Linked DNA regions of Homo sapiens: regions 1 and 2 are each linked to region 3. The links are contacts of gene promoters, found by promoter capture Hi-C in blood cells and fetal thymus (Javierre and others, 2016). All regions are on one chromosome and are shown on one strand. The core of a region is centred on a gene start or on the middle of the fragment in contact, and the rest is flanking DNA. Distances in the headings are between cores, read along the strand shown. Region 1 holds the start of ZNF467 (zinc finger protein 467). Region 2 holds the start of C7orf33 (chromosome 7 open reading frame 33). Region 3 overlaps ZNF398 (zinc finger protein 398).

The links. The method cuts DNA at HindIII sites, captures the fragments that hold promoters and counts their contacts. A CHiCAGO score of 5 or more calls a contact.
Region 1: the fragment with the promoter of ZNF467 here is called in contact with a fragment that was not itself captured in region 3 in 1 of 17 cell types (neutrophils); the score reaches 5.0 in neutrophils.
Region 2: a contact is called between the fragment with the promoter of C7orf33 here and a fragment that was not itself captured in region 3, in 1 of 17 cell types (fetal thymus). The highest score is 6.4, in fetal thymus.

Annotation. Positions count from the first base shown.
Region 1 is chr7:149,772,336-149,775,035 of GRCh38, reverse strand. ZNF467 (zinc finger protein 467) reads left to right here and starts at 1,448. Exons shown (of 5, transcript NM_207336.3): 1 at 1,448-1,928. RefSeq lists a silencer at 1,826-2,005. The HindIII fragment of the contact is 21,836 bases long and covers 1-2,700 here.
Region 2 is chr7:148,589,371-148,592,070 of GRCh38, reverse strand. It overlaps C7orf33 (chromosome 7 open reading frame 33), which reads right to left and starts at 1,305. Exons shown (of 3, transcript NM_145304.4): 1 at 942-1,305. The coding sequence starts at 1,145. The HindIII fragment of the contact is 1,806 bases long and covers 557-2,362 here.
Region 3 is chr7:149,162,381-149,165,080 of GRCh38, reverse strand. The region is part of intron 2 of ZNF398 (zinc finger protein 398); the gene reads right to left. It also overlaps the pseudogene LOC100420549. Among named protein-coding and RNA genes, the nearest start is that of ZNF398, 16 kb to the right of the region's middle. The HindIII fragment of the contact is 3,642 bases long and covers 1-2,700 here.

The sequences.
Region 1 (2,700 bases), core at 199-2,698, 610 kb before region 3:
CTGGTCCCAGCAGAGCTCTGAGCACACCCGGACACCCGGGCTGGAATGCAGCCTGGCTCCGACTCCACACCCCTCGGTCTCCTAAACCTGATATCCCTCCGAGTATCCTGTAGAGTCATTCCACCTAGGGGAGGAAGGGGGCTGCTGTTAACCAGAGCTGGGCCGGGCTCTCCTTCTCCTGGGTTCACCATTGGTCCCAGGGCCAAAAAAGGGCCCAGAGTGAGTCTCTCAGGGGGTCACGGATGACTGGGATCAACTCCTGCTCTGGAGTCCTCAGAAAGAGCCACACGCACACCCAGACACCCCCCTTTCCTGTTTTACACACATGCACACTCTCACTGTAAGTCTCACAACACCGGCACAGGTGCTCGGCCACACCCCAGCACGCACAGTGACACATGCTACTCCAGGTGCTCCCTTCATCCTGGAGGCAGAGGAGCCTTCACAGCTGAGCCCGAGTGATGGGCGCTCTTCCAGGCACTCATCCTTGTGGTGGGCTGTGGTAGCAGGAGCTCAAGGGCCATTCACACCCTCCCCTTCCCAGCCTCACTCAGCTCTGGATTCAAACCGGGGCTGATCAGGCAGCACTGGGATTGGGAAGAGACCCGAGTTGCAGTCACCCTTTCCCGTAAAGGGGCAGAAGGGAGGAAGCTGGAACCCAGGGGTTTGGAGAAAGTTCATGGAGAGGAGACCGGGAACTAACAGTCCAGACTTCAGCATCTCCGGAGCTTTCAGGAGTGGGCGCAGCGGGAACAAGGCCAAGGAGAAACCTCGTAACCTGGGCAGGGAGGGCGAGTGGAGTCCCCTGAGGAGCTGGGGCTGAGGGCTGAGGGCTGAGGGCTGCCCTCCACATCTAACTCCAGGTGGTGTCCGGGCCAGCAGGCCCCCCAGCAATCGTCTCCCGCCCATAGAGCCCTCCCCTCTCTGCAGCCCCCTCCCAGACCCTCCCCCGGACCCCGCCCTCAGAATCTCCGCCCAGCCCCGTCCCAGCCTTGCCCCCTGGAGCTCCCGACCTGGCCCGGCCTTCTCCCAGGGGACCTGGCTTAAAGTCCTCTCCCCAGTTTCTACTTCGAAGGACCCGTTCTCGCAAGCACAGGGGCCCAGCCCTCTCTCCCGCCTGCCCCCACGGCTCCCGCGGCTGGTTTCGAATCGGGTCCTCGGGACTCCAGGCGAGGGGCTGCGGGTCTGGGTGGATCGGGGTGGAATCCGGGTGGAGAATGGGGGCGGGGCCGGAGTTTCCCAGACCGACCCCCCGGGCCGTCCTCCCGCGGGAGCGCGGCGCTGCACACCCGGCTGGCACCGGCGACTTAGAGACGGCAGCGCACGACTCGCTGGCTCCCCCCCGACACGGCCCCTCCTCGTTCCCCCAACTCCTCCCCGCCACCCCCCCACCCGTTCGCGCTCCACCTTTCCCCGGCTCCTCCCTCCGCGGCCGCGAGCACCCTCCCTTGGCACCCTTCCCCGCAGCCCGAGTGCCTGTCCTCCCCAGCCTCCTCGCCCTCCTCCACCCCCTCTCCCATCACCCTCCCCTCCCCTCCCCTCCCCTCCCCCGTCCTGAGCTCCCACTTCCACACCTACTCCAGGCTCGGAGCCTTAGGACCATCACCTGCCCACCTAAGCCCACGGTGCTCCCTCCTGGGACCCCACTCCTGAAACCCCCTGCCCCTGCCTCCCCCAGCCCGGTGCGCCGGGGCTCTCCGCCCGCTCCCTCGGTCCCTCCTCCCTTGCAGGCGCCGTTTCCCGGCTTCGACTCCCCGCGCGTCTATCCCTCTCCTCCCCGCGAAGTTTCGGGGCTGTCAGTCTGTCAGTCTTTCAGGCCGTCAGCACCCGAGCTGCAGGCGGCGAGCGCCATTGTGAGCAGAGCCGGCGGGGCAGGAGGCCCGGGCGCCTGGGTCCCCGCGGCGCGGGCGGAGCGGCCGGCCAGCCAGGTAAGGGCCGGGGAGGCTCCTCTGCAGGCGGCCCCGCCCGCGTCTCCCTCAGCGCCGCGGTTGGGTCACGGCCGGCTCCGCGCAGGTGACAGCCCCGGGGGTAGGGGCGCGGACGGCGGGCGTGGGGGAGGGGCGCGGGTCCGGGGAGGTCGGGGGCTGGGGGGAAGGGAGGGCAAGGCCGGCGCGGGCAGGGTGAGGGCTGTGGGGGTAGAGGAGACCGGGGGGGCTGGAGGGAAGGGCGGGGGCTGGGAGGGGGTCGGGCGGGAGGCAGGTGGGAAGGGGGACGACGGGCCCCGAGGGGAGGAGAGAGGGAGTGTGGGAGGGGGCCGAGGGGGAAGGGGAGGAAGAAGCGGGCGCTGGGGACCGGGCCACTCGGTAGGGGCGGGAGAGGAGGGCGCTGACAGGTGAGCCCCGGAGCTGGGGAGGGGGCCGGGACCTGGAATGAAGTCGGCGATCGGAGCTGCTTGGGAGGGCGGCGGGGCAGGGAGGTGGAGCTGAGGGTCCCGTCGGGAGGAAAACTTGGGAGGGGTGAGAAGTCCGAGGGGAGCAGAAATAGGGAGGGGGCGCCGCGGCGGAGAAGAGAGGCGCGGAGGGGTGTTCGGAGGGGAGACGGAGTGGGGAGGGCAGGGCCCGCGGGAAGGTCCCGAGAGAGCGGGTCAGCCCTAGACCCCCAGGCTTGGGGGCCGGAGGACCCGGGAGCTGGGAAGCAGCCTGGGAGGGGGGAGGGGAAGAGCGGTTCTGGGGACTGGGGACGGGGAGGGAAGCGAAGCTG
Region 2 (2,700 bases), core at 56-2,555, 570 kb after region 3:
ACTGCAACATGGGAGAAAACAAATTAGGGCTGGAGAACTAGGTGGGGACACCTGTGGTTCCCATCAAACTGAACACCCAAAGCTGGAGATAAATACAAAGTGGGAGCTCATACTTTAACCAAAAATGCCTGCCTAGTGGGAGGCAGGGGCTTGGGGATCAGGAGGTGTCAAAGATCAAAGACAGGCAAAGAGTTAAGGATCCAGGTCTTGCTGGGCATGGGTGGCACTTCGGGATGTTGAAGTGGGAGGATCGTTTGAGGACAGGAGTTCAAGACCAGCCTGGGCAACATGGCAAGACCCCATTTCTACAAAAAATAAAAAAATTAGCTAAGCCTGATGGCACATGGCTGTAGTCCTAGCCACCCGGGAGGCTCCTCTGGGAGGATCACTTGAAGCCAGGAGGTTGATGCTGCAGTGAGCTATGATTGTGACACTGCACTCCAGCCTGGGTGACAGAGCAAGATACTATCTCTAAAACAACAACAACAACTCCTGGTCTTTAAAGCGAGAGAAGAGACAAGAATCTAGGCAAGGAGAAGGGAACAGGTGCAAAGCTTGTGCCAAAGGGTGACCAAGATAGAGGCTTCCTGTGGACCCATCTCCAGGGCAAAACATAGTCTGAGAACAAGCGCATTCCTTCTACCACACTGTGTGAAAATATACAATTTTTACGCTGGAATTTTTCAAATCAACATGACTCAGGCTAAACACAAGAATACTCAGTGGAGTGTTTTGTGAGGATTCTTTTCCCTAAGAAGATTCCAGGCCTTCTTTGGGGCAGTGAATTAATCTCTGTCTCTCTCTTTACTTCAATGTCGTTAAGCCCAGTTCCATAACACATAGTAGAGAGTCAAAAACATTCATGGATTGAGTGAATGAATTCTCAAGAGATACTGACTGACTCAAAGAGCAGTTGATTCATCTTAGAATCATTAACTTACCTTATGTCTTCCCGTGGCATATGACAAGTTAAATTGACCTGGACCGCCCCTAACGTGGACCCAAACAGCGACTGCCCTCCCACTCAGGCGAAGGTCAATCCGGCGCCTTGCCCCACTGGGCAGGAGGGCTTCACATTCACATTGGGGGCCTGGAAGTCTCCAGGGACACTCTTCAAGGCTGAGGCTTTGAACTTCCACTTGCATTTTGGCAAAGGTAATTACCTTTCCTGGATGCTGTCAAGGAGAGCGGCGCTTCACCACCAATATCTAAGATCAAGTCGCACGGATCCCCAGGGTCAGTAGGAGGATTCAGACACAGGCTGGGCGCCTCGCTCCTGACCACTGGATTGGCATCACCATAAGTAAGGTCACAGCTGAGTAGAAAATGCCTGAGGCAAAGTGGGGGTGAAAGAGGGGCCACCGAGCAGTGTGATAGGCAGCCCCTTCCGCCAGCTCATTATCCCCACCTGCTCCTGTCGTCTCCTATTAGAATCCTAATGCGAGTTTACGGAAAGTCAGCTGGAGCTTGTCCTCCATGTAATTCAGATCACGTTGCCTGCAGCTCTTAGGTACTCAAATAAACAGAAGGACTAATATTACTACTGAAAAAGTAATTAAGGGCATTCATTGTAAAGTAATAATGATTACCTCACCCTCACCATATGGCCAGAACTGATTAACACCTAGAAGAAATGATCTAAAACCTCTACAATCAGAATTAATGTCTCAGGTCATAATGAGAAACATTTTGTAGCGGGGTTTGGCAGGGAAGGATGAAAAAGTGGTTGGGAGTTTACTAAATCAAGAGGCACAAACAAAATATTGAGGATAACATCCTTTTTCAGGATTTTTCATCTCATTCAGATTAGACAAGTTGCATTTTTAGTGTAGAACCCATATCACAAATGCAAAAAATATTACAAGATTTACACATTGGAATTGTCACTTAATTGGATGAGTTTTTCCTCCATTGTTTCTTTTATAATGATGAGGAATTGATGGAAGAATCTCCATCGAGGCTGGCAGTTTCTTAAATCACCAGGGAAGGGCTTAGCCCACTGATTGAAAATCTTCTTATCGTAAATTACTGGTTAAAATGCTATTTGTTGTCAGGAGTATCATGGAGTGTGATTTAATCTCTTAAGATTAGTTAAAGTGGTAGAAATGTTAGCATTTCTGGGTAATGCCAAACAGGTTAGCATTACAAAAGATGCCTAGAAAGATACGGACCCATTTGGAAGACAAGGTTGCTGTAAAAGCCAGTTTGCAGGTGCACCGTGGGGGGTGACAGGATGCCCTGGGCTGTTCTTGATTAGTGCGTGTGCCCTAGGGTCATGTGGTGAAGCATAAGGAAGCAGAATTTGGGATATTTTTCCCACCAGAATCCCTAAGATTACTCTGTGTACTGCTGGGGAAAAGCTTAATGGGCTCAACACCACCCTTGAGGGAAGGCAATAATGGAATCTCTTTTTTCTGCAAATACTTCCTTGGGTGGTGCATCATGATTCCCTGAGGCAGGATTTCCTGCAGCAGAGCTGGAGGGGCTGGAGGGGCTGGTGGGGCTGGTGGGGCTGGTGGGGCTGGAGGGGCCAGAGGGGCTGGTGGGGCTGGTGAGTCTAGAGGTGCTGGAGTTCCAAGAACTTGGCCTGGAATCTTGAACCTGCAGCCATACATTCGGACTCTAGCTTTGCCTTTTTACTTATCTGTCTTTGACCACTAAAGAAATAGACAGACCTCATAATATTATTTCCTCGACTGC
Region 3 (2,700 bases), core at 96-2,595:
CGCTGTACACCCAGGCTGGAGTGCAGTGGCGCGATCTCGTCTCACTGCAACCTCTGCCTCCCGAGTTCAAGCAATTCTCCTGCCTCAGCCTCCCAAGTAGCCAGGATTACGGGCACCCGCCACCACACACCGCTAATTCTTGTATTTTTAGTAGAAATGGGGTTTCACCACGTTGGTCAGGCTGGTCTCGAGTTCCTGACCTCGTGATCCACCTGCCTCAGCCTCCCAAAGTGCTGGGATTACAGGTGTGAGCCACCGTGCCCGGCCTCCCACAATTTCTTTTCACACTGATGCTTTTCACATTGCTTGCAGACATCATGATCCACTTTCATTTTCTATCTGCTAACTTGTTTTCAAATTCTAGCTTTTCATCCTGTAATGCCAGAAGTCTTTTACAACCTTCTTCCTTGGCATCTGGTGCCTTACATATTAATATATGATCTTTTTTTACTAAGGGCACTTTGTGGTGTTCAATAGCTGGTCTCAGAATTTCATTGTCTGACAGTAAACCATCCAGTTCACTTTGAATCTTTTTCCTTTCCCTTTCTAGCTCACTCTTGCTGCCTCTAGTTTCATGGCTGTTATTTCTAGTATGCTTGAAAGTTTCGTTCTTTGACTTTAGTGCTCAGTGTATTTCTTTCTTTCTCTTTTTTTATTTTTATTTTTATTTTTTTGAGACGGAGTCTTGCTCTGTCACCCAGGCTGGAGTGCAGTGGTGCGATCTTGGCTCACTGAAAGCTCTGCCTCCCGGGTTCACGCCCTTCTCCTGCCTCAGCCTCCCAAGTAGCTGGGACTACAGGCGCCCACCACCACGCCCGGCTAATTTTTTGTATTTTTAGTAGAGATGGGGTTTCACCGTGTTAGCCAGGATGGTCTCGATCTCCTGACCTTGTGATCTGCCCGCCTCGGCCTCCCAAAGTGCTGGGATTACAGGCTCAAGCCACTGCGCCCGGCCCTCTTTCTTTTTTTAAGATGGAGTCTTGCTCCATCACCCAGGCTGGAGTGCAGTGACGCTATCTCGGCTCACTGCAACCTCTGTCTCCTGGGTTCAAGCAATCCTCCTGCCTCAGCCTCCCAAGTAGCTGGGATTACAGGTGCACACCATCACGCCTGGCTCATTTTTGTATTTTTAGTAGACACGGGGTTTCACCATATTGGTCAGGTGGGGCTCGACTCCTGACCTCAAATGATTCACCTACCTCAGCCTCCCAAAGTGCTGGGATTACAGGCGTGAGCCACCGCCACCACTCCCAGCCTGGTCAGGGTATTTCTTTCTTGTTCAGTTTTATGTAATCTTTAATGATTAAAAAGGTACTTTGGCCAGGCGCAGTGGCTCCTAGAACTTTGGAAGGCCAAGGCGGGTGGATCACCCAAGGTCAGCAGTTTGAGGCCAGCCTGACCAACATGGCGAAACCCTGTCTCTACTAAAAACACAAAAATTAGCTGGGCTTGGCCGGGCGCGGTGGCTCACCTGAGGTCGGGAGTTCAAGACCAGCCTGACCAATATGGAGAAACCCCGTCTCTACTAAAAATACAAAATTAGCCAGGGGCGTGGTGGCACAGGCCTGTAGTCCCAACTACCTGGGAGGCTGAGGCAGGAGAATCGCTTGAACTCGGGAGGCGGAGGTTGCGGTGAGCCGAGATCACACCATTGTACTTCAGCCTGCACGACAAGGGCAAAACTCCATCTCAAAAAAAAAAAAAAAAAATTAGCTGGGCATGATGGCGCATGCCTGTAATCCCAGCTACTCAAGAGGCTGAGGCAGGAGAATCGCTTGAACCTGGGAGGCGGAGGTTCCAGTGAGCTGAGATCACGCCACTGCACTCCAGCCTGGGCGACAGGAGTGAAACTCTGTCTGAAAAAAACAAACAAACAAACAAACAAAACAGGTATTTTGTTCATTGTTTGATTGTGGCTCTTTTTCCGAGCATTTAACCTACAGTTTACGTGACATTTTTGGCCTACTGGGACCTGACTGTAACTGCATCTCAGCCAACTGTCACACCTGTATTCTTAGGACGTTTTCTAACTGAGCACCAGAATTCTCTTTTTCAGCCGTTAAATCTGCTACTTCAGCCTCTGAATGAATATATATATATTTTTTGAGACAGACTCTCGCTCTGTTGCCCAGGCTGGAGTGCAATGGCACGATCTCAGCTCACTGCAACCTCCGCCGCCCCCCTCCCCCCACCCAGGGGTTTGCCATGTTGGCCAGGCTAGTCTCAAACTCCTGACCTCAGGCGATCTGCCCACCTCGGCCTCCCAAAGTGCTGGGAGTACAGGCGTGAACCACTGTGCCCAGCCAGCCTATGAATTATTTTAATTTCTGAAACAAATGGACTTTTTCTCAAACAAGTTCCTCTACTCATTTGTTGCCTCTTGTGGGATCAACACTAAGCAGCTGGTTATATAGTTCTACATCTTTCCCCAGTCTTGCAATCTATAATTCAGGCCAGGTGCACTGGCTCATGCCTGTAATCTCAGCACTTTGGGAGGCCAAGGCAGGAGCATCACTTGAGGTTAGGAGTTCGAAACCAGCCTGGACAACATAGTGAGATCCTGTCTGTATAAAGAAATTTAAAAATTAGCCAGCTGTGGGGCCAGGCACAGTGTCTCACACCTGTAATCCCAGCACTTTGAGAGGCCGAGGCGGGCGGATCACGAGGTCAGGAGATCGAGACCATCCTGGCTAACATGGT